Regions from separate parts of the Homo sapiens genome. Here all the other regions are linked to region 1. The links are contacts of gene promoters, found by promoter capture Hi-C in blood cells and fetal thymus (Javierre and others, 2016). All regions are on one chromosome and are shown on one strand. Each heading gives the region's core, a stretch centred on a gene start or on the middle of the fragment in contact. The rest is flanking DNA. Distances are from core to core; before and after follow the strand shown.

What was found. Contacts are between HindIII fragments. The CHiCAGO score rates a contact against its expected background, and 5 or more counts as called.
Region 2: a fragment that was not itself captured here is called in contact with the fragment with the promoter of SH3PXD2A in region 1 in 2 of 17 cell types (activated CD4 T cells and naive CD8 T cells); the score reaches 5.9 in activated CD4 T cells.
Region 3: a contact is called between a fragment that was not itself captured here and the fragment with the promoter of SH3PXD2A in region 1, in 1 of 17 cell types (non-activated CD4 T cells). The highest score is 5.2, in non-activated CD4 T cells.
Region 4: a fragment that was not itself captured here is called in contact with the fragment with the promoter of SH3PXD2A in region 1 in 3 of 17 cell types (M1 macrophages, M0 macrophages and endothelial precursors); the score reaches 10.1 in M1 macrophages.
Region 5: a fragment that was not itself captured here is called in contact with the fragment with the promoter of SH3PXD2A in region 1 in 2 of 17 cell types (total CD4 T cells and fetal thymus); the score reaches 6.5 in total CD4 T cells.
Region 6: a contact is called between the fragment with the promoter of NEURL1-AS1 here and the fragment with the promoter of SH3PXD2A in region 1, in 2 of 17 cell types (M1 macrophages and erythroblasts). The highest score is 5.2, in M1 macrophages.

What each region holds. Positions count from the first base shown.
Region 1 is chr10:103,853,889-103,857,519 of GRCh38, reverse strand. SH3PXD2A (SH3 and PX domains 2A) reads left to right here and starts at 1,944. Exons shown (of 15, transcript NM_001394015.1): 1 at 1,944-2,325. The coding sequence starts at 2,254. The HindIII fragment of the contact is 2,015 bases long and covers 842-2,856 here.
Region 2 is chr10:104,156,322-104,159,981 of GRCh38, reverse strand. All of the region lies in intron 27 of CFAP43 (cilia and flagella associated protein 43), which reads left to right. It also overlaps the pseudogene LOC751602. Among named protein-coding and RNA genes, the nearest start is that of SFR1, 36 kb to the right of the region's middle. The HindIII fragment of the contact is 2,176 bases long and covers 1,260-3,435 here.
Region 3 is chr10:104,113,911-104,117,450 of GRCh38, reverse strand. No RefSeq gene overlaps it. Among named protein-coding and RNA genes, the nearest start is that of SFR1, 6.5 kb to the left of the region's middle. The HindIII fragment of the contact is 603 bases long and covers 1,458-2,060 here.
Region 4 is chr10:103,578,310-103,582,205 of GRCh38, reverse strand. The region is part of intron 3 of NEURL1 (neuralized E3 ubiquitin protein ligase 1); the gene reads right to left. LOC124902496 (a long non-coding RNA gene) reads left to right here. Exons shown (of 3, transcript XR_007062277.1): 3 at 1,217-2,235. Among named protein-coding and RNA genes, the nearest start is that of NEURL1-AS1, 63 kb to the right of the region's middle. The HindIII fragment of the contact is 5,414 bases long and covers 1-3,896 here.
Region 5 is chr10:104,136,274-104,139,660 of GRCh38, reverse strand. All of the region lies in intron 34 of CFAP43 (cilia and flagella associated protein 43), which reads left to right. Among named protein-coding and RNA genes, the nearest start is that of SFR1, 16 kb to the right of the region's middle. The HindIII fragment of the contact is 4,816 bases long and covers 1-3,387 here.
Region 6 is chr10:103,515,719-103,519,557 of GRCh38, reverse strand. It overlaps NEURL1-AS1 (NEURL1 antisense RNA 1), which reads left to right and starts at 2,116. Exons shown (of 4, transcript NR_120675.1): 1 at 2,116-2,172. All of the region lies in intron 1 of NEURL1 (neuralized E3 ubiquitin protein ligase 1), which reads right to left. RefSeq lists an enhancer at 3,784-3,839. The HindIII fragment of the contact is 6,397 bases long and covers 1,486-3,839 here.

The DNA.
Region 1 (3,631 bases), core at 695-3,194:
GGGGAAGAACTGGGCCCTCTCTCCTACAAATTTATTGTGCTTGGTGTGTTCATTGTGGATCTGGGTCCGAAAGAAGGGTAATAAGGAAACCACTAGTGCTGTTTTAGATGAGCTGACTGCTTTGATTCACAAGGGGACCCAAATCAAACTAAACCCCCTCCTCTTCTTCCCCCCACAACAGCTAAACACCAGCTCCCCTCGCTGGTGGCTTCTCAGGTTTTATTAGCACTTCCAGAAGACTTTGCCATCCACAGAAGACGAGTTATCCGAGAGCCATGATGAATCTCTTCCTCACAAACTCACAGGCTGTCTTGATCCATCATCAGAGAGGACCTGGAGCTGGCCAGCACCCTCCCAAGTTCGGGAGCTCAATATGGAGGGCCCGTTCCAGGTCTACCTCTCATCCCTTCAGGGAATAATCCTTGCTCATGGAGGTAGTGCCCTGTCCTCCCATTTTCCCATCAGCTGAGCAACATTACCAGGTGCACCTTCCCCCAGGACTCCTGCTCCAACATTCACAAAGGTTTTCTGTCATCTTCTCTGACCAAGAAGCTCTGGCCTGGTGCCAAGATCTCTCACAGTCTGAGCCCCCTAGGCCCATCCATCTTTTTTTTTCTTTGTCCCGTGCCATCGTTTGGTGTCCTAGCGCCCTTCCCCAGGAAGGTTGGAGGAATAGTGGGTTACTCTGTATGGAGCAAATATGTGAATAAATAAAGCCTTAGATCTGTGCCTGGGTTCTGACAGTCTAGAGAACGCGCAGAAGAAAGTATTAATGCAATTAGGTCACAAAATTATTTGTCCTCTTTTCAGATGTTTCACATTGGTCCACAGTCACAAAGCTTTATTGTGATTGTGTAACAACTGGAGTAGTTGTGAAAACACTACCCTTTAAATGTTTGAAAGCAGAATGGGAAAAAAATGTTGAACTAGAAGGGGGGAAGCTACATTGAATTAAGTAGTAACTGTGCTCCAAGTCCAGGGACCACGGACAAGTGGCTTGGAAAGTGGGTTTTCCAGACTAGAGGGAGGGGTGAGAATGCCAGAGCCTGGGGCTCACGGTGAGCTGGCCTCCAACCGGGTGGGTTTTCCCACCATTGTATGCTCCTTTCCCTGTCGCCAGCTTGGGGAGGGTCCCCAGGGGAGCCCTGGGCTTAAGGCAGTGGTGTTATGCAGAGTCTGTAACGTTGTCATTGGTAAATGATGCACAGGGTAGTTACACAAGCCCAGATCGATGGACGACTCAGGCAACGAATCGATCACTTTTCCGGGGAGAATTCACCCTTTATGACCTGCAGAGGGTCAGGTGGTTCGTCCAAAGAGGCTCTGGCTTGAAGGATTTAAAGCTGGCCTTTTCCCCATTCCCATCTCCTCCTCGGGGGCCTGGGCAGTAACAGCCGGGTAATAAACTACTTCTCATTAAAGAGATCTGGGGGTGGAAGTTGTAGGGGGACATAAAAGTGGGGACAAAAAGGCACAAATCCGCTCCGAGGCGGAAAGCCAGGATGGGGGCGCGCGGGGCTCACTTTCCCCGCTCCCTCTCCCCCCGAAGCCACCCTGAGTTTTTGTGCCTAGCGAACTAGCCCGGTGCTGCGCCAGGCCGCTGGCTGCGCGCTGGGCTCGGGTGGGGGCTCGTCGGCCCGCCCCTGCCACTGGGGCCGGGCTGCAGCCCCCTCCCCGTCGCCCCGAGCCCCTCCCCCGGCCCGGAGCCCCTCCCCGCGCGCTTCCCCTCTCTCCCCTCCCTCCCTTCCCTTCCCTGCCTGCCAGGCCCTGCCTCCGCCTCCTGCGCCCACAGCCTCCGCCAGCGCCGATCCCCCCGGAGCCCGAGCCGGAGAGCGGCGAAGGGGAGCCGCCGGCCCCTCCCCAGGACGCTGACAGCAGGCTCCGGGGCCCCCGCCCCGTCCCCTCGCCGACGGGACACACCCCCGCCCCTCCTCTGCTCCGCCAGTTCCCGCCGGACCCACCGGGCGGCGGAGAGAGCGAGCGGGCGAGCGCAGCGCGGCGGCCGCGCGGGAGTGAAGGGGCGCGCGGCAGGCCGGCGGGGAGTCCCCCGGGGCGCACGGAGCCCGCGCGCCCTCCGGGACCCTCCCCCGTCCCTGGGCCGGACCTGTGGGCGCCGGGAGTCCGGGCAGCGTTCGGCGCGCCGGGCCGGGGTGGCGGGCGGCCCCGGGACCCCGGCAGCTGGAGAAGGAGCCGGAGCCCGGCCGGGATGAGAAGGTGACGCCGCCGGGGGCGCCACTCGCTTTGTGGGGGAAGATGCTCGCCTACTGCGTGCAGGATGCCACCGTGGTGGACGTGGAGAAGCGGAGGAACCCCTCCAAGCACTACGTGAGTACAGCCCCCGCCGACCCTGCTGGGGGTGGCCCGAGGTCCCGGGAGGGCCCCGGATGGCCCCTTGCCCCTCCCAGCTGTGAGGTCGCGAAGCTAAGCGCCCACTGGGCAGCCAGCAGCCGTGGAGTTTCTTCGCAGGGCTGTGATCTCCAGGGAAGCCTCTTCTGTCCTTCCTCCTTCGCACCCCCGCCCCCCCGGTTTCTTTTTTTGGCATTGGAATTGGCAAGTGGCTGCCCTTGTCTGTTACAACGGTGAAGTCATCTGTCCGCCTTTGATGGATGGTGGGGGGAGCTTTCGTCAACCCCTCACAGAGCAGCCCCGTCGGGAAAGCGCATCTCCTCGGCCCTCCCCAGGGGCCCTGGGCGCTCACGCTCACACAGCCCGAGATGCTTTCAGAGCTCGCCCTGGAGAAGGAAGCCTCGCGCCCTGCCTCCCACGCCAGCTCTGTCTCTGCCTTCCTAGGCCTGGGGCTGGGGGCAGAAGGAAGCCGCCGCCCCCTTGCCCAACCTCCACCCTCCGCGCTAAGCTTTGATTTCCCTCATAAAGCCATTGTGTCCGTCGGTGTGAGGAGAATTGTGGCTTTTCCTTTTATCCCTCCTCTGGACGTGACCCTTAACCGGGTTCATTTCCTCTTAAGTGATGCTCCATCTCCAGACACGAGGAGGCGAATGTTTGCTGTGGTCTCCGAGGAACCGCCCCTCCCCCTTCCTCCCCCAAACTTTAATGAGAAGGGGTTAAGGTTGACTGGGGCAGCTCCAGAGCCTATGTGACAGTTCCCCTTTCATCTCAGCCGGTCCTGTCTTCCCATCCCTCACACCTTAGGAAGTAAACACGGTGTCCTTGACCCCTCTGAGCGTCTGTGCTCCTGTACTTGAGATAGAAGAGACCCAAGCACAGAGGACTGCATGTTATTTGCAAATTGGGTATTTAGAGGAGCAGTTCCAGTGCTCAAAGCATTAATCTTAACAGTTAAAACAGGCGCTGGTTGCTGCCCTGGATTGTACATTGATCTCTGAAGTGCCTTTTCTTCCACTGTTGCAAAGGGACTGGGGTTTGTGGCAATGTCAGCCTCGGGCTACTCTTTTTGCCTTTGTCACCAGTGTAGCTCTGAACTTTGAGTTTCTTTACAGCTGAGCAAATGCGGCTGGGCTCATATGGGGAGGAGGTAAATGTGGAGGCAGGTTGACTAGGCAGGGAGGTGGGTGCCTGTCGGGTCCAGTCCCTGACACCCTTAGAGAGTTGTTTCTTTTGTGTCATCTGGTCCAGCAAGCATTTTCTGCTGCTGTTACAAGAAAGCTCTTTT
Region 2 (3,660 bases), core at 1,098-3,597, 300 kb before region 1:
CCTTAGAGCTGGTCCGCAATGCTACTCCATTTTTCCCCTAGCCAAGTGCTCTCACACTTGAATGCGAATCTGCATCACCTGGGGGATTTGTTAAAAATGCAGGTTCTGATTTCATTGTTTCTCTGTGAAAATGGAAGGACGCTGAGATTTTGCACTCCAAATAGGCTATTGCTGTCCAGTGGACCCTACTTTAAGTAGCAGGATCCTAGAGTACCATTTCACACCCGTTGCGCATCTCCCAAACTTTCAACACCTGACGCCCTCAACTCACTCTCACCTTATTTTCTATTTTACTAAGAGAAGAGAGACAACTAAAAGTTATTTCCCTTACTCCTCTACTGCTGCATCCACCCGCCAGCTCCACTGAATCCATGGCGTCTGCCTTTCTGCTTCTTATGGGTGAAATGGCCTTGCATCCACCTAAGCCTGGTCCTCTCCTGGTGCACTAGTCACCATCCCATCTCACCTACTCAATGTCATTACTCATCAGTTTACCCTCTTCTTTCCTGCATCATCAATTTTTCCCACCCTGTGGATTTTCCCCATCAGTGTAGACACATGCTATAATTGTATACATCTCTCATCTTATTAAAAAAATACTTCCTGGAAGGAAATGCTTGAGTTCTTTCTACTGTTCTTGTGATATTTGGGTCAGTATAAATTTATTTCAAAACAAAAAGTAAAAGGAAAAAACCCAACTCCTTTGGCCTCTCTTTCCCCCTGGATCACTCAATGTCTCTGCTCTCCTTTACTGCAAAACTCAAAAAAATCTATGTTGATGGTTTTCAATTTCTCTCTCAAGTAAAAAAAAAATCTTGTATCGTGGAAAATGTCAAACATGTATAAAAATAGAGAGAACAGTATAATGACCCCTTTATCCAGCTTCCGCAATTATCTACTCACGGCCAATCTTAATTCATTTTATACCTCCACTTACTTCCCTAACATTGGATTATTTTTTTCACCAATTTTTATTTTAGAATTATTCAAATGTACATAAATGTTACATGAATAGTACCATCTATATACCATATATTTGTACCAATGGCATATATATTACGTATATGTTATATATATATTGTATATGTATACCTGTGCACATCAGTTTTTTATATTGCCACATTTGTTCTCTTTTTCTCCTGAATAGTTGGAGACAAATCACAGATATCATGATATTCCTAAATATTACAGCTTAAACCTCCTAAGAACAAAAATATTCTTCTACATAACCACAGTAAAATTATCATACAAAAGAAGCTTAATATTAATATGATTATCTAATTAAGTCTATATTCAGATTACCCTGTTGTCCAAGTAGTGTCCTTCATAACTTTTTTTATTGGTGTTTATCAAAAAATCTAATCAATTTCACTTAGTTTGTAATGTTCTTTTAGTCTCCTTTAATCCACAACAGTTCTACAACTTTGTGTTCCATGACATTGACATTTTTTAAAAATCGAGGCTTATTTTTTTGTGGCATGTCCCCCAAGTTGAATTTGATTGGTTTCTCATGATTAGATTTAGGTGCAGTATTTCTGACAATCATACTAAGTAGATGATGCTGTGTCTTCAGTGCATCGTATCAGGAGGTTCCAGATTTCAGTCAGTCCCACTGTTGGTAACATTAAGTATGATCACTGGAAAGAAGGTTTCTCCAGATTTCTTTGTTATAGAAGTTCTCTTTCTCCTTCGTGTGTAATAACTAACCTGTGGGGGTGACATTTTGAATCTGACTCTCTGTTCATTCTGTCTTTTGGCATCCATTGATGATCCTTGCCTGAATCAATTATTACTGTAGTGATTGCAAAACGGTGCCTTTCTAGCTTTTATCATTTATATTTATTAGTTAGTATTCTTCTGCAAAGAAGAGCTTTTCCTCTGCCCTACCAGAGGCATACTCTAACTTAATGTGTTTTAATCCATGACTATCATTATTATTTCTGTTGTTCAAAGTGTTCGGAGCTTCTTCAAGTTGTCATCTGTGTCCTTTTCATGTGTCCTCATCAGTTTTTGAGCACTTTCTCCGTTTCTAACACAGCAAGATGTTTTAGGCACCAAGAATAAGCTATTTTTCTTTTTAGAGAATCCTGGATTCCTTTTGCTGGCAATTGGTATTTAGAGACCAAGATCTGGATACCAGATGTGTTCTTTGCTATAGGGGTTAGGAGTCATTCTCTCTCTCTCTCTCTCTCTCTCTCTCTCTCTCACACACACACACACACACACACACACACACACACACACATCCAGTTAGCTCCAATTCCAACTCAATTCCAATTCGACAGCACAGGGTTCTTTTCTCTTTCCTTCATTTAATATTTAGGTCTCCCTTTTTCAGTGAAAACTCTAGTTCCCAAAATACACATATACTTACTGATTTGCTCAGTCCTACAATGTACATAAAATACCTCTATCAAAAATGCTGTCCCATCTACCCCCTATGTTTTTTTCACCAAACTATCTCTGCCTCTTCCCAGAGATTCCAGCTGGGCTAGACGCTGAGCCCCTTTGGTAACAACATTTAAGGGAACATGAGCACAACGCATAATGTCCTTAAAAGCATGTTGTGATGTGCACATTTTGTAATTACCTTTTTTGTTGTTTTATAGCAACCATATGTAAAACATTCCAAATACTTCTACAGCTCTGCAGTCTAATCCCTTTGTCACTTTTGGAAGGTGACTTTTCAGCTTAATGCACATTGCCCTCTCTGTAGAGGAAGGAAAAAGGTATGGGCCTGCCTTACTGAGAACTAAACAGAGTCCAGGGAAAGACTCCCCTGTGGGAAACCACTTTGTTCTCTACAAAGTATCAGCTAAACCAGAAAGGTGATTCCAGGAGGGGTTAGCCAAACAGCAGCAACAACAAAAATGTGCAGTTCAGGTTTTCAGCTTTAAGATATCTTTAGACAATGTTATTTTTACTTGTTTTATTTTTTTCATTAGAAGTGACCAAAATTAAGATGGTGAGACCTCTGAGACCAAATTTTTGTCCCATCCCTATCCCCTTGCCAGTTGCTTACAGAATGGATCATGTGCCCCTTATGTTGAGGGGACCACTTAATTGCTCTCCTGCGTCCTTGAAAGAAAGAAGTAAGATTGTGTTTTTGCCACCGATTTAGCCATATAAACCCCATCTCCTTGCCGTTTTCTGGGTTTCGAGCTGCTGTCTCTAAAAGTACCATATCATTGTGCTTGGTATCAGTTGGTGCTGGACAAATTTTGAACAAGTTATGTACAAAACCTTTTAAATTTTATATTATTTTGGAACTTTGCTTCTTTGGGTTTGTGGCATCCGAGCCACCCTGTTTGACTGTGAGAGCTCTCTAGTCTGTGGGCTGGCAGTTTGCTGATCGTTTAAAGATTCTTTCCCACTCAATCCCCACTTTTTGGTAAGGTTTTTGTGTAAGGTCTGTTAGGTTTACATCCTGAAGCTTATTGGCTTAAAATGTACTCTTCTTTGATGTAGTCTCTTTGGGGCCAATTGGGAGAAAGAGAAACCAATAGTGCAACCATTGTGATACTGAATATTAACAGGTATCTTTTTGGAAATAAAGAAACAGTCCCTCCAAACAAACAAAACAAATACTATAGCTATTTTCGGATTTCCTAGTAGCTTTTTTTTTGTTCTTAGACTATATCCCGCTAAGAATACACCAAC
Region 3 (3,540 bases), core at 510-3,009, 260 kb before region 1:
CACCTCTTGGCAAACTTTGATGATAAGTATAGTAGAGAAAATCTGTGAATTTAGCCTAACCAGAAATTTTCTGGCTCACGTCAGGAGCTGAGAGCTAGAATGAAGTTTAATCCCTTTCCCACCACTCTACCAATCAGGAGAAAACACTACGTCTCCACTCCCAAAGGCAAAGTAACATTACATTAACACCATCAACCTTTAGGAGCAGCGTCAAACCTGCTGAATGCAGAGCCCCTGACCAGAACTTCTGAAGCCCCCGTGAGGACCAGGTGGAGAGGCATGATCAAAGACGGGCAAGGTGGCTTGAGCAAAGACACCTCTTCATGGATCCTCTCCCTTCCACCTGCAAGATTGTGTCGAGTGCTCATGTCCCCCATACTGTGTCTAAATTATACCACTTGTCAGTGACAGCAACATCACTCAGCTCTCCACCTCCATGACACATCTGTGGCTACCCACATATAATGTATAAAGTTTGATGATGATGCTGGTGATCCTCAACTGGCAAGTGATATTATTACTTTTTGATACTAAAAATATGTCTTTCTTACAGATACTAAAAATATGTCTTTCTTACAGAAATAGGATCTTGGAAAAGAAGTATAGAATAAAAAATCATTCACTCTGACATAGTCCTCTAAGATTTCACCCAGCTATTTAGACTTTATTAGCACAAGATTAAGACAGATAATACTTTTCCTTCAACAATGTAAACCTTTAATTCAAACCTTTCCAAACTGTCCCACCCCACAAAGTTTCCCCTTATGTTCCACTCTGGTTGTTATATCATCTATCAAGCACATTATCTAAGCTATTTTTCACTTGATTTAAGTACCTACCTCTGAGTCAACTTGTCCTCTTCTTACAGCCACTTTGAAACCTTTCTTTTATTATTATTATTTTAATCAAGAGAAGGGTGATTTAAACAATTGTTTTCTAACACTCCCTACTACATGGGAATGATGGCTTAATATATCTCCATTTTACTGTTTACTCCCTTTCTTCTGCTCTGGTATGACATGAATCTACACCCTTTTATGAATGCTGGATATTGAAAACACACCTCTGTTGCTGAAGGTCTGGTGTGAAGGGAATTCATACTAAGCACAGGAATAACACCCACCAGCAAAGATGGTCTTTAGGATGGTCAGGCTTTTGGAGGCCTGTCATTTGGCAAACAGCATCCCATGATACCAAAGAATACAGGTTTGGGTTTTGGAGGCCAGGCAACTAATTACGTCCAGATTTGTTAAGCAAATTCCTATGAAACTATGAGGTACCGATAGGTTAAAAAAAAAAAAAAAAAAAGCAAGCATTACTACAGGTTGGCATTGTCTGAAATGCTTTCCTAGTCTAACTCTGGAGAATTAAAATAGAGATTTTAAACCTGCATGTACAAGTTTAGGATTTTTGTAAAGCTGCCAAATCTTTAATGTAACAATAATTAGCATAAAGCTTGTGTAATTAAGTTGCCCTGAAAAGAATGAGTTTGAATCTTTTGCAAGATGTCTCTCTTATTTAAAAAAGCAGTTTTACCAGTATATATTATTTTCACTCAGAGCTGTTTCCCACAGGTTTTGAAGAGATGTAAAGCTGACTGTGTTTTATTTCAGTAATTGTCTGCAAGGATAGCAGTTTATTTTCAGTCACTAGTTTTTGGAATGAATCAATCAACCACATTTGCCCACCAATATGTCTATGAATACTTTTCATTTTTATAGTTGAGAAGAATCAGTTTTATTGCTCCCCTCAATCTAGATAAAATTCCTTCGTGCTCAGAATGGGATTAAGTCCCCAAATCAAATGTGAGAAAGAGAAATTCAGACATATCAAGCACTAGATGCAGTAAGCCAGTACCTATAGTGACTTGATTTTGATGGGTAAAAAATAGCATGTAATCACAGGTTTGAACCACTACAGGTAAGAATTACATGGACTAATGAGAATACTTATGAAGCTGAAATTAAACATTTGCATACTAACTAACAGTTCTCAAGGCAAGTCTTAGAAACCCCTCAACTTCCAATCAATAACTGCTCAAACTGAGATTACAGGAAGCTTTCTTGGACTACTGTGTTCATAACTGAAGTCAGTTGTCTTGAGTGTTCAAATATTTTCTGCCAAGAATTGTGCAGGAGGAGAGGGAAGAATTGAGGAGGTAGGGGCAGTAGGGAAGGAAGGGAGGGAAGGGGGCTATATTTACTACATGTTTCTTGCCCTTAAGCAGAACAAAAACTAGTGTTCCAAAATGATGTTTTTCATAACAAATTACTGATTACTAGGCTTGTTTACTCCATACTAAAGTTATTCTGCAGATTTGACCTGGGTTTTAAGGCCTCAGCATCAGCTCAAACACCAAGAATCCTGGGCACGCTTAATTTGGGCTAAATTCTGACAAAGTCATGATTTCTTTCTTAATGAGAAATGTATTCGTCATGTTCTTAAGGCCTTTTGATACATTTGAGTTAAAAGGATTATGGAAGTTCAAGATTTTGTGTTTAATACAGGTATAAGCATGCATTACAGATACATGTGTACTTTCTTAGCACTGGTGGAATATTATAATGATCAGGTTAAACTTGATTATACCTTGTAACTTAGATAAGCCATTTCACAGTAGGTGAAATTTTGAATGAGTAAAGCCATAAAGCCACAGACCTTACTTATTTGTTTTTTTTTTTTTTTTTTCATTCCAAATCTTGTCTTTGTTGAGTTTTTTTGCTGTATGGAGTCAATTGGGGATGAAATGGGCTGTGGTCACAAACTGTGAAGGTGAGGTTGCTTAAATCTGTACTAAACATGAGATAATCATGGGTTGTCAGTTTAAATTGAGGAAAATTGGGAAGTCTTTGGAATTTTTGTTTGAATACAAGTTTTGGTGAATAAAAATGACACTCATTGATGTTTACAACATTTTTCTCCAAGTCATTCATTCTCTTGGAAATATGGCTGCAGCAAGGGATAGGCCTGAGTCAGAGCATCTGAGTTATTTACTGACCCTATCACTAAAAACTAACGAGCTGTATTGACTTTGGGGGGTTCAATTCAGTTTTCTCATCTATAAATTGTGAAGAGAAAAGTGATCTTTCCCTGGCTCTGAGTTAGTTCCTACAATTCCAGGTGGGGTCATTTTGGTACACCTGAAATTACCACTTCCCACCAGAGTGTTAAATGAAGTTACGGGTAAAATTCTCTATAGAAATAACCATTATGATAATATGATGGAAGATGTATTAGGTGCTGTAGACGGAAAAATAAATATATTCTTTAGGAGTTTACAAATGGACACCAGTATTTATCACATTGATTAAACCAGAGCCAGCTCTGGGAAAAACTAGCACACAGAAGTTTTTGTTTTTTTTTTTCCAGTGACCTTTCTTTCCTCTTCGCAGGCCTCCCACATTATCCTAATCGAACCCTTTCAAGCCCAGGGTTTTAGGCTACTCTCATCAACCACCTCTTGCCATTGCAGGGCATACTCCAAGTTATTTTGCTTACTTGTACTGTCATCTTCTGGAACTCATGTCCCTGTCTTTATTA
Region 4 (3,896 bases), core at 968-3,467, 280 kb after region 1:
ACAGAGAGGGGAAGGGGCAGTAACAGCAGGGAGAAGAGGAATCAGGTCGCTCAGAGATGTCCAGCCAGAGCCTCCAGGAACACAGCTGTCACAGGGCCCACACCACCCCCTCAGGACAATCAGTCCAGAGCTCCTGGGGCTGGGCAGACCCTCAGAACAGAGCTCTTAATGGGGCTGGATGCAAGCTATCCTGGTCTCTCTGCCCCTTCAGGAGTCCCCTTCTACTTAAACATGCACACTACCAGGTGCTCACTAACTTCCAGGCAACCTGTTCCATTGTGGAGTTAATCTGTCTTTAAAGAGTATTTCCTTCTTTTAAACCAAAATCTACCTCCCTGTATTTAACCCACTACCTCCTGAGCTGCCTATCAGCCCAGTACTGAAGACAATTCTCAGGGAATACTCAGAGTCCCCACACACCTTCCCACCTCTTAGATAATGAACAAAACCAGACTCAGTACTCTAGATGTGCACCAACCAGCTCAAGGCATAGTGTGGCCATCACCTCCCTTGGTATATATGCTATACTTCTAATAATGCAACCTAAAAGTACATTAGGTTTTTTTCAGTAACCAACATTCATATACTAGTAGGCAGGACAGGAGCACAGTTAAGTGCAATGAATTTGAAGTCATCAGTCTAGGTTCAAATCCTGGCCCTGCCATTTCCTGTATGACAGGGCTATATGACTGGACAAATAGCTGAACTTCTTGGGGCCTCTTCAGCAGTGAAATCAGCATCTACTGATTTACATAAAATCTGTATCTAATACTCCCCTTAGAAGAGACGCTGTGAGGATGAAAAGGAGTAAGGTACACAGGGCACCTAATAGGAGACCTGGCACAGTCATTAGGTTAATATAAGCCGTTGTTATTGGCATGTGAAATGCCACATGATTCAGAAGAAAGTGCATGGGCTTTGGGGTGATCCAGGTCTGGATCAGGCCTAGGTTTAAATGTCTGATCCAGCACTTGGCTGGTGGCTTTTGGGTAAGCAACCTTCCTCCCAGCCTCAAATTTCTCACCTAGAGAATAGGGGTAATAATACCTGCCCTGAGTTGTTGTTGGAAAGATCCGAGGTAAAGTGGGACCACCCCCAGCACCCAGAAGCTACCCGATAACTTCAGATATTAGTATTTGCTTGGCTTGAGCACAGTCTCAACTAAAAGTCAGGTACACCTGTCCTCAGACCATGGGCTTTTTGAACCTTAATGCAGGATTTCACATCAGTCATGATGGGTACCCAGGAAATACTCATTGAATGAAATCACCAAAGACCAAGAAGCAGCAGCTAAAATGTAGAGGTGAGAGGATAAAGAAGAAAGAAAGGAGAAACAGTGGAGGATGTACAAAGAGAAGGGGGTAGGAAGAGGATCCCTTTAGCCTTGCTTGAAATCTTGCTAGAGTTGGGAGGGGAGGGACAAAAGCTGCTGGGAAACAGCTAAAAACGGAACGAATCCCTAGGGCCAGTGCCCAGCCCAAGTCTGTCTTCTCTCCCTCTCCACCCCTCAGGGTCAGGAGCAGCTGCAGGCAGCCAGCAGCTCCAAAATAACCATCCCATCAGTGAGCCCAGCTGTGTCGAAGCCCTGAAATAGATGAAACTCGAGACACAGGAGCTGGTTAGAACACCCTCCGCAGAAGGGACGGCAAAGGTCACAGTTGAGTGAGCTGATACCAAGTTAGAGGTCAGGGCAGTGTTTGGGGCCCCAAGCCATGGGAGAACACCATGGGACCAACCTCGGCCCAAGACTGCACCACTTGATGGGTAAGGCTTAGAAAAACCAGATGGGCAACCTCTCACCCCAAGCAGTGGGGTGGCCCCACATTCGGAAGCAACAAGTTACATAATCGGTGCCGGGACACGTGCCCACCTGCTTTGGAGGTGTTTATGATGGGAACAGAGATGGCACAAGGCCATGAGGAGAAGCCGCTAAGCTGACTACCCTTGCATGTCCCATCATTCAGGAAAGAACCTGTCAGTCTTCAGCTCTTGCCTGTTCTGGTGCCCGGCAGTGGCTCTACCAACACCCTGGGCCAGAGCAAAAATAAGCAGACCCTGCCAGGGCAGGGAGGTCCCGGCCATGTGTTTCCCCTCCTCTAGGTGGTGCTGGGGGCCCTACTCACTGACCTACTGTGTGCCCAGCCCTGGGCAGGGAGTCTGGGAGAGGGAGGAGCCAGGAACTGGGCCCTGGGAGCCAAGAGTCAGTGGAAGGGGCAAGGCTTAAAGGCAGGACATGTTTTTTTTATTATTATTATTTTTTGATACGGGGTCTCGCTCTGTTCCCCAGGCTGGAGTGCAGTGGCACGATCTAGGCTCACTCACTGCATCCTCTGCCTCCCAGGTTCAAGCGATTCTTGTGCCTCAGCCTCCAAAGTGGCTGGGACTACAGGTGCACACCACCACGCCTGGCTAATTTTTGTATTTTTTGTAGAGACAGGGTTTCACTAGGTTTCCCAGGCTGGTTTCGAACTCCTCAGCTCAAGTGATCTGCTGGCCTCAGCCTCCCAAAGTGCTGAGATTACAGGTGTGAGCCACCATGCCTGCCCCGAAGTCAGGAAAATATTTGAATACAATTCAGTTACCAGAGTCTTAGTATCTAGGATTAGACAGGACTTTCGAGGAACTAAGGTACTAGGAAATCCATTTATCCCTGCCAATCTCTCAGCTAGAGGCTAGAATGGCCCTAGGGTCAGGAAGTTTACCATCTCCCAAGGCTACCTATTCCCCACCTTGGAATAACCATGACTTAGAAAAACTCTCCTGGTGGGAATCCATATGTATCCCAGATACCCTCCTTGGGGCTCCCTCTGAGTCTTCTCTCCTTTACAGTAAATAACCCCTTTAGGATCAAGATCCCCAACTAAGGCTGAAGTCCCCTTCCTGTTTCAGAGTGGGCTAGGGAAGGTATTCTGGACGACACAGGAGTTGACCTGAGCTGAAACACAGGAGGGTTTGGGTTGACAGGTGAGAAAACTGTTAGCAAACACCTGGTGAAGAGCAGGAGTGGGAGCGGGAGGAGACAGACTGAGGAGGGCCCCAGGGCTTGCTGTTGCCCAGAAAGCCACCCGGCCCTGCCATACGCTGCCAGCAGTGCAGGGTAACCAAGGCAGGACCTGGGCGTGGGGGACCTCAGGGCAGGCCGGGGCCTCCTTTGAGGCAGAGCTTGCCGTCAGCCTGAGAGTCCCATTTGTTGACGTTCTCACATCCGGAGCACTGGCTAATCTGTAACCACAGGTCAGCCTGCAGCCGCCTGGCTTGCTAGCAGGTATCTGCTGGCCCCTGTTTGGGAGGCGCTGCCAGCCCTTTACTGTCTCCACAAACATCCTCCTGCTGGTCCGCATCTGGCACGGGGCATGGGAGGGAGCCGGGAAGTGCGGGTGCCTGGCTTAGACAGGCAAGGGGGTTCTCCACCCCTCCCAGCACCCACCTCCACCCTCTCCCTTTAAACCCAACCATGGGAAATTTAGGAGAAACAAACATGCTTTCTGGGGCTCACAGAGGGAAGGGCAGAACATCCTAAAATCACTCACAGTCACAGACTTTAAGATTCAGAGAATCTTCAAGCCACGGGATCTCATAGATTTATAGAATCATCTGGTCTAGTGGGTCTCAAACTTTTTTAAAAAGCAGTGGAATCCTTTTGTCCAACAGAACCCCAAGTTCTGGCTGAAGTCTAGGAGGTGGACCTAGCACCTATCCCCTCACCCTCTCTCTGGCCTTCTCTGCAGCCTCCAAGACACCTCTGTGGAACCCCAGTGTTCCAAGGAACCCAGCTGGAGAAGCACAGATCTTGTTCCAAGGAGCAATTTCGATTGCATGGTTTTCCTTTCAGCCCGATACAGAGACCTGGGTTCAAGGCTCCCTCTTCTAGTTGAAGAGCTGGTTTGAGGGGTTGG
Region 5 (3,387 bases), core at 708-3,207, 280 kb before region 1:
AATCACCTTCATTGTTGAAAGATACTTTGCTAGATTCACTGGATTGCCAGGTTCGTTCATTTGTTCTCTCTCTCTCTCTTTTCATTTTAAAGATGTTCATTTTCTTCTGAACATCTAGATAGTTTCTGACAAGGTTTCTGCTATATTTTTTATCTTTGTTCATCTGAATTTAATGTGTCTGGCTTTGAGATTTTTTATTTGTTTTTCAGCAGTTTGAACACAATGTGTCTAGGTGGGGATAGGGGGCGGTATGCACATGTGTGCGTGAGATTCTTGAGCTTCTCTGAGCTTCCTCAATCTGTGATTTGATATTTGTCATTATCTTTGGAAAATTCTTATTTATTATCTCTGAATATTTCTTCTGCCCCTTTCGCTCTCTCTTTTTCTACTGGGATTCCAATTACACACGTGTCAGATTGTCTGATACTGTTCCACATCTCTTAGATATTCCATACTCATTGTTTTTCACTCTTTGTTCTCTTTATGTTTCAGTTTGGGTAATTACTATTGCCCTATATTCAAGTTCATTCATTCTTATGCTGTGTCTAGTCTGATAATGAGCCCATCAAAGGCAAAATATCTGTTACCATATTATTGTAGATAGATAGATAGATAGACAGACAGATAGATAGACTTACATTTAGTATTTCTGTTTAACTTATACTTTCCATCCCTCTGCTGAAATTCCCCATTTGTTCATGCATGTTGTCTATCCTTTCCAAAAATTTTTGTTTTAGAAAAGTTGTAAAGATAGTACAGAGAATTCTCATATACCCCTTATCCAGTTTCTTATATTTTATTATTTTCCATCAGTATGGTACATTTGCCACAACTATTGAACTAATATTGACACATTATTATTAACTAAAGTACAAACTTTATTCACTTTTCCTTAGTTTTTACTTAAGGTCATTTTTCTGTTCCAGGATCTCATCAGGATGCATTTTATTTAGTTGTCATGTCTTTCTTTTTTTTTTTTTCTTTTTAGACTGAGCTTTGCTCTTATTGCCCAGGCTGGTGTGCAATGGCACTATCTCAGGTCACTGCAACCTCCACCTTCTGGGTTCAAGCGATTCTACTGCCTCAGCCTCCCGAGTAGCTGGGATTACAGGCATGCGCCACCACACCTGGCTAATTTTGTATTTTCAGTAGAGGCGGGGTTTCTCCATGTTGGTCAGGCTGGTCTCGAACTACCAACCTCAGGTGATCCGCCCACCTCAGCCTCCCAAAGTGTTGGGATTACAAGCCTGAGCCACCGTGCCACCGGCCAGTTGTCATTTCTTTCTAGATAGTGACAGTTTCTCAGTTTTGTCTTGTTTTTGATGACCTTGACAGTTTATTGTAGAGTAATAGTCAGTTATTTTGTGGAATGTCCCTCAACTGTGGTTTCTCTGATGTATTTATCACTATTCGCCTGGAGTATGGAGAAAGAGACCACAGAGGTAAAATGCCCTCTCAGCACATGATTTCAAGGATACATGCTATCAACATGTCATCACTGTTTATTGAATCTTGACCACCTGAATTGAGGTAGAGTTTTGTCAGGCTTCTTTACTATAAAGTTACTTTTTCTCCACTGTTCCATGCTATACTCTTTATAAGGAAATTAGTCATAATTATTTTAAATTTCCCATCTGATAGTTCTAACACCTGTCATCTCTGATCTAGGTGTGTTGATTGCTTTGTAACTTAGTTTTTTAGAGATATTTTTATTGTGGTATAATACACATAACATAAAATGTACTATTTTAACCATTTAAAGTGTGCAAGTCAGTGGCAATTAATACATCGCAAAGTTGTGCAGCTAGTACTGCTATCTAGTTCCAGAACATTTTTGTTTTGTTTTGTTTTTTGTTTTTTGAGACAGGGTCTGGCTCTGTCATCTGGGCTGGAGTGCCGGAGCATGATCTCAGCTCACTGCAGCCTCCGCCTCCCAGACTGAAGCCATTCTCCCACCTCAGTAGCTGGAATTACAGGCACGTGCCACCACACCTGGCTAATTTTTATATTTTTTTGGTAGAGATGGGGTTTCACCATGTTGCCCAGGCTGGTCTCAAACTCCTGGGCTCAAGCGATCCTCCTGCCTTAGCCTCCCAAAGTGCTGGAATTACAGGAGTGAGGCACCCCACCCGGCCTCAGAACATTTTTTATCATCCTAAAAGGAAACCCCACACCCATTAAGCAATTATTCCCCATCCACCTCTTCCCTTAGCCCCTGGACACCACTAATCTGCATTTTCTGTATGGATTTGCCTATTCTTAGTATTTTGTATGAATGGAATCATACAATATGTGGCCTTTGTTTTCTGGCTTCTTTCACTTAGCATGTTTTTAAGATTTAACCATGTTGTAGCATGTATCAGTCTTCATTCTTCTTTTGTGACCAAATCATATTTCATTTTATGGATATACATTTTGTTTATCCATTCATCAGCTGGTGAATATTTGGGCTATTTCCACCTTTTGGCTATTGTGGTGCCTATAACTGTTCATGCACAAGTTTTTGAAAACCTGTTTTCAGTTCTCTGGGGATATATACCTAGAAGTGGAATTGCTGGATCGTATGGTCATTGTATGTTTAACTGATTGAGGCACTAAAAACTGTTTTCCATAGTAGCTGCACCATTTCATATTCCCACCAGCAAAGTATGTGGGTTTCACTTTCTCTACGTCCCTATCAAAACTTGTTATTGTTTCTCTTTTTTGTTGTTTGCTTGCTTGCTTTTTAATTACAGCCATCTTAGTGGGTTTATTCTTGATGTAAATTTCTCTAATGACTAATGACATTGAGCATCTTTTCATATGCTTGTTGACCATTTGTATATCTTTGGACAAATGACTACTGAAGTCTTTTGCCCATTTTCAAATTAGGTTTTGTTGTTGAGTTATAGGAGTTTTTTATATGTTCTGGACATTAAACCCTTATATAATTTGCCAATATTTTATCCCCTTCTGTGGATTGTCTCATGTTTTTGGTGTTAAATCTAAGAATCAGGCCGTGTGCGGTGGCTCATGCCTGTAATCCCAGCACTTTGGGAAGCTGAGGTGGGATCACCTGAGGTCAGGAGTTTAAGACCAGCCTGGCCAAGATGTGAAACCCCGTCTCTACTAAAAATACAAAAATTAGCCGGGCATGGTGGCAGGCACCTGTAATCCCAGCCACTCAGGAGGCTGAGGCAGGAGACTCACTTGAACTCGGGAGGCGGAGGTTGCAGTGAGGCGAGATGGCGCCACTGCACTCCAGCCTGGGTGGCAGAGTAAGACTCTGTCTCAAAAAATAAAATAAAATAAAATAAAATAAAATAAAATAAGTAAATATCTAAGAATCAAATCTGAAGTCATGAAGATTTATCCCTGTTTTCTTTCTTCTTTTCTTTTCTTCTTTTT
Region 6 (3,839 bases), core at 867-3,366, 340 kb after region 1:
ACTCCCAGGGACTTGCACCAAGGCAGGTGAGCCCAGGACTCCACTGTGGTTATATTATGCACTTCTGGATACCTAGCCCTGCCTGGGCACTGAGGGGAAGAATATGAGAAGGAAACAAAATTTAACCTTTTCTAGACATAGGCACAACCACTGGCAATCACGTATCAATTATCTCATTTATTCCTTGATACCACTGGTCAAAGCAGCAAGACGACTCTGCTGACCATACTCTCTTTTGGGAGGGGACAGGGCTATAAAAGTTCATTTTTTAAAAAAGTGTTTTTTTCTTTCTTTCTTTCTTTCTTTTTTTTGAGACAGAGTCTTGCTCTGTTGCCTAGGCTGGAGTGTGATGGCACGATCTCGGCTCACTGCAACCTCCATCTTCCAGGTTCAAGCAATTCTCCTGCCTTAGCCTCCCGAGTAGCTGGGATTACAGGCACCCGCCACCATGCCCAGCTAATTTTTTTGTGTTTTTAGTAGAGACAGGGTTTCACCATGTTGCCCAGGCTGATTTTGAACTTCTAACCTCAAGCGATCCACCCGCCTCAGCCTCCCAAAGTGCTGGGATTATAGGCATGAGACACTGCGCCTATAAAAGTTTAAACTGTAAAAGCAATATGTGCTTATTGTTAAAAATAAATAAATATAACAGTACTGATTTGTGTGGAGTAAAAGCATCCCGTTCCCCAACACTACTCAACCCCAGCCAATTCTCCAGAGGTAGCCCCTGGTAACAGTTGGGTGGGTATCCACTCAGCCTTGGTCTGTGTGTGTACAAACAAACAAAGTAAATATGTCTGAGTGATAACTAGATGCACAGGTAGATATCAAGGTATGGAACCACAGAATAGAGTTGTTCCCCAAGATACCTGCACTGCTCACTCCCTCACCTCCTGCAAATGCCATCAGGTCTTCTCTGGCCCAACCTATTCAAAGTGCTGTTCCCCAGACCCCCCAACTCATAATCCCTGTATCTGCCTCACTCATGGTTTCTTTCTCTCCAGGGCATTTTTCATCATCTGACATCCATATGTCATGTTTTTGGGTTTTAAAAATCTGTCTCTCTTCATAAGAATATAATTCCATGAGACAGAGGACTTGTTCCCTGCTGTATCCTAGTACTTAGAACAGTGCCTGGCACACAGTAGGCATTGACTAAATACTGGTTGAAAGAAAGGAATGAAAGAAAAGAGGGAGAGAGAGGGAGGGAAGGGAAGGGAGAGGAAGAGGGGGAAGGAAAAATGTAGCACTCTAAATGCAAACAGGCCCATACTATACATATTACACAATTTGCTCTTTTAATAATATAGTAGACTTTTTTTTTAAATCATGGTACCTCATTAATGTGTAAAGCTGCAAGGTATTCCTGTGAATAGACGTCATCATTTACTTAACCCACTGCTTCCTTCCTGAAACTGTGTGGGCAGTAAGTGGAGAAAGGGGCAAAATAAGGTACTCCCAGTCCATGGCTCTTGGCAATAAGCTTTCCCAAATTTCAGTCTAGGAAATTGACTGTTCATGGATCAGGGCATGCAAAGTTACCCTCAAGAGACATAAAGGATACCTGGCTGGAGGTGAAGAAAAGATGTGTTCATTGGATGCCAAAGATCGGTGAAAAGGGGATGTCACTGAGGCACACTGCGGTGAGGCCCACGGGAGCAGAGCCAGGGAGATGGTGGCCTGCCAGGCCCAAGTGTTGGGTCCTCCTGGCAGGCATTTCCCTGTTGGTGAAGTGGCCTGGGCAAGGCTCAGAGCCCATAGGCATTGAACTCTCAGACTGTGTTCTCAACTTGCCAGGCCTAGAGCAAGTTCACCCAGCACTCAAAGAGCTGCTGCAGGGGAGAAGGTGCCAGGAAGTCCATCTGACAGAAAATTTCTCTTTGGGAAACAGTACATTGACTTCTGATTTGACTCATGAACCTTTGTGGACTTGATTACAGACAGCCAGGGGCTTCCAGTCCTATCAACTCAGAGGAGACACAGAGGAGATGAAATTTGGGGCCAGCTCAGGCAAAGGCCAGATGTGGGCAGGAGAGGACTCACTACGGAAACCAGCCCCTCAGGCTGACCCACCTAGCTCCTAGCTCACAAAGCCATTGTGTTGAGTAAATGAGGTCAGAGCTGTGGGTCTTGGGGCTCAGGGCCTGGTACACAGTAGGAGGTCATTAAACAGTAGGTATTTCTTGTTTATTATTAGAAGTTTGAAGAAGGTGAGTAATGGTATAGGGCAGGTCACACAATGGTGACTCACACCTGTAATCCCAACACTTTGGGAGGCCAAGGCAGGAGGATCGCTTGAGCCTAGGAGTTCAAGACCAGCCTCAGCAATATAGTGAGACCTCATCTCTACAAAAAGTTTAAAAATCAACTGAGCGTGGTAGCACATGCTGGTAGTCCCAGCTACTCAGGAGGCTGAGGTGGGAGGATCCCTTGAGCCCAGGAGGTGGAGGCTGCAGTAAGACGAGATCACGCCACTGTACTCCAGCCTGGGTGACAGAGTAGGACCCTGTCTCAAAAAAGAAAAAAGAAAAGGGAGGGAGGGAGGGAGGAAGGATGGAGGGAAGGAAGGAAGAAAGGAAGGGAGGGAGGGAGGAAAAGGAAAGGAAATAAATCAGGAAGTGTAAGTATTCCAGGTTTTTCTTCCAAAGAAGGAAGGAAGGAAGGAAGAGAGGGAGGGAGGGAGGGAGGAAGGAAGAAAGGAGAAAGGAGAAAGGAAAGTAAATAAATCAGGAAGTGTAAGTCCTCCAGGTTTTTCTTTCTTCCAGAATCGTACTGGTTATTCCAGGTCCCCTGAGGAGGAATCTACATTTTTCCAAGCTCTCCAGGCAATTCGTAGGCCCTTAGAGAACCACTGCACTGTGCCATATCATACCTCTAAACTCTGCTCCCTTGGCCTCTCTGGCCCTCTGACCTTTCCTGATTCTCCTTGTACCTCTCCCACACCTTCTTCATGGTTTCATTCTGTCCACCCTGTGATATTTCAACCACTCTCATGGTTTAAGTGACACCCACTGCTGACAACTCATTGTGGCCCTGATCTCTCTTCTGAGATTCAAGCTCACACATGGAGTTGCCAACCCAGCGTCTCCCCCAGGATATCTCAGGGCTCTTCTGACACACCCTGGCCAAAACTCAACCTATCATCTTTCCCTCCAACCCCCGCCTTCTGCTTGGGGTCCTGATGGGATCACCATTCTCCCAGTCACCTGAAAACCTGGCACCAGGAATAATCTTGGATTATTCCCTCACTCTCACCGCCTGCATCATTCAGTTATCAGTGCTGCCAAACACAACCTTTTATTTTTTTCTTTTCTTTTTTTTTTTTTTTTTGAGATGGGGTCTCACTCTATCACCCAGGCTGGAGTGCAGTCGTGCAGTCTCAGCTCACTGCAACCTTCACCTCCCAGGCTCAAATGATCCTCCCACCTCAGCCTCCCAAGTAGCTGGGACTACAGGCGCACACCACCACACTCGGCTAATTTTTTATATTTTTGTAGAAATGGTGTTTTGCAATGTTGCTCAGGCTGGTCTCAAACTCCTGGACTCAAGTGATCCACCTGCCTTGGCCTCCCAAAGTGCTGGGATTACAGGCATGAGCCACCGCACTCGGCCAAAGCACACCTCTTAAATATGTTTCAAACGTGTTCCTTCCTCTCTTGGACCACATCTGTAGTTCAGGCTTCAGCATCCCTCCCCTAGACAACTTCACTTCCTTCATAAGTGGTCTTCCAACTTGTCCCTCTTAACTCCATCCTCCACAGGGTAGCCAGCACGATCTTTCCAAAAAGCAAATCTAAAACTTTCAATAGCTCCTACTGCCCAGAGACACCTAGGGTCTG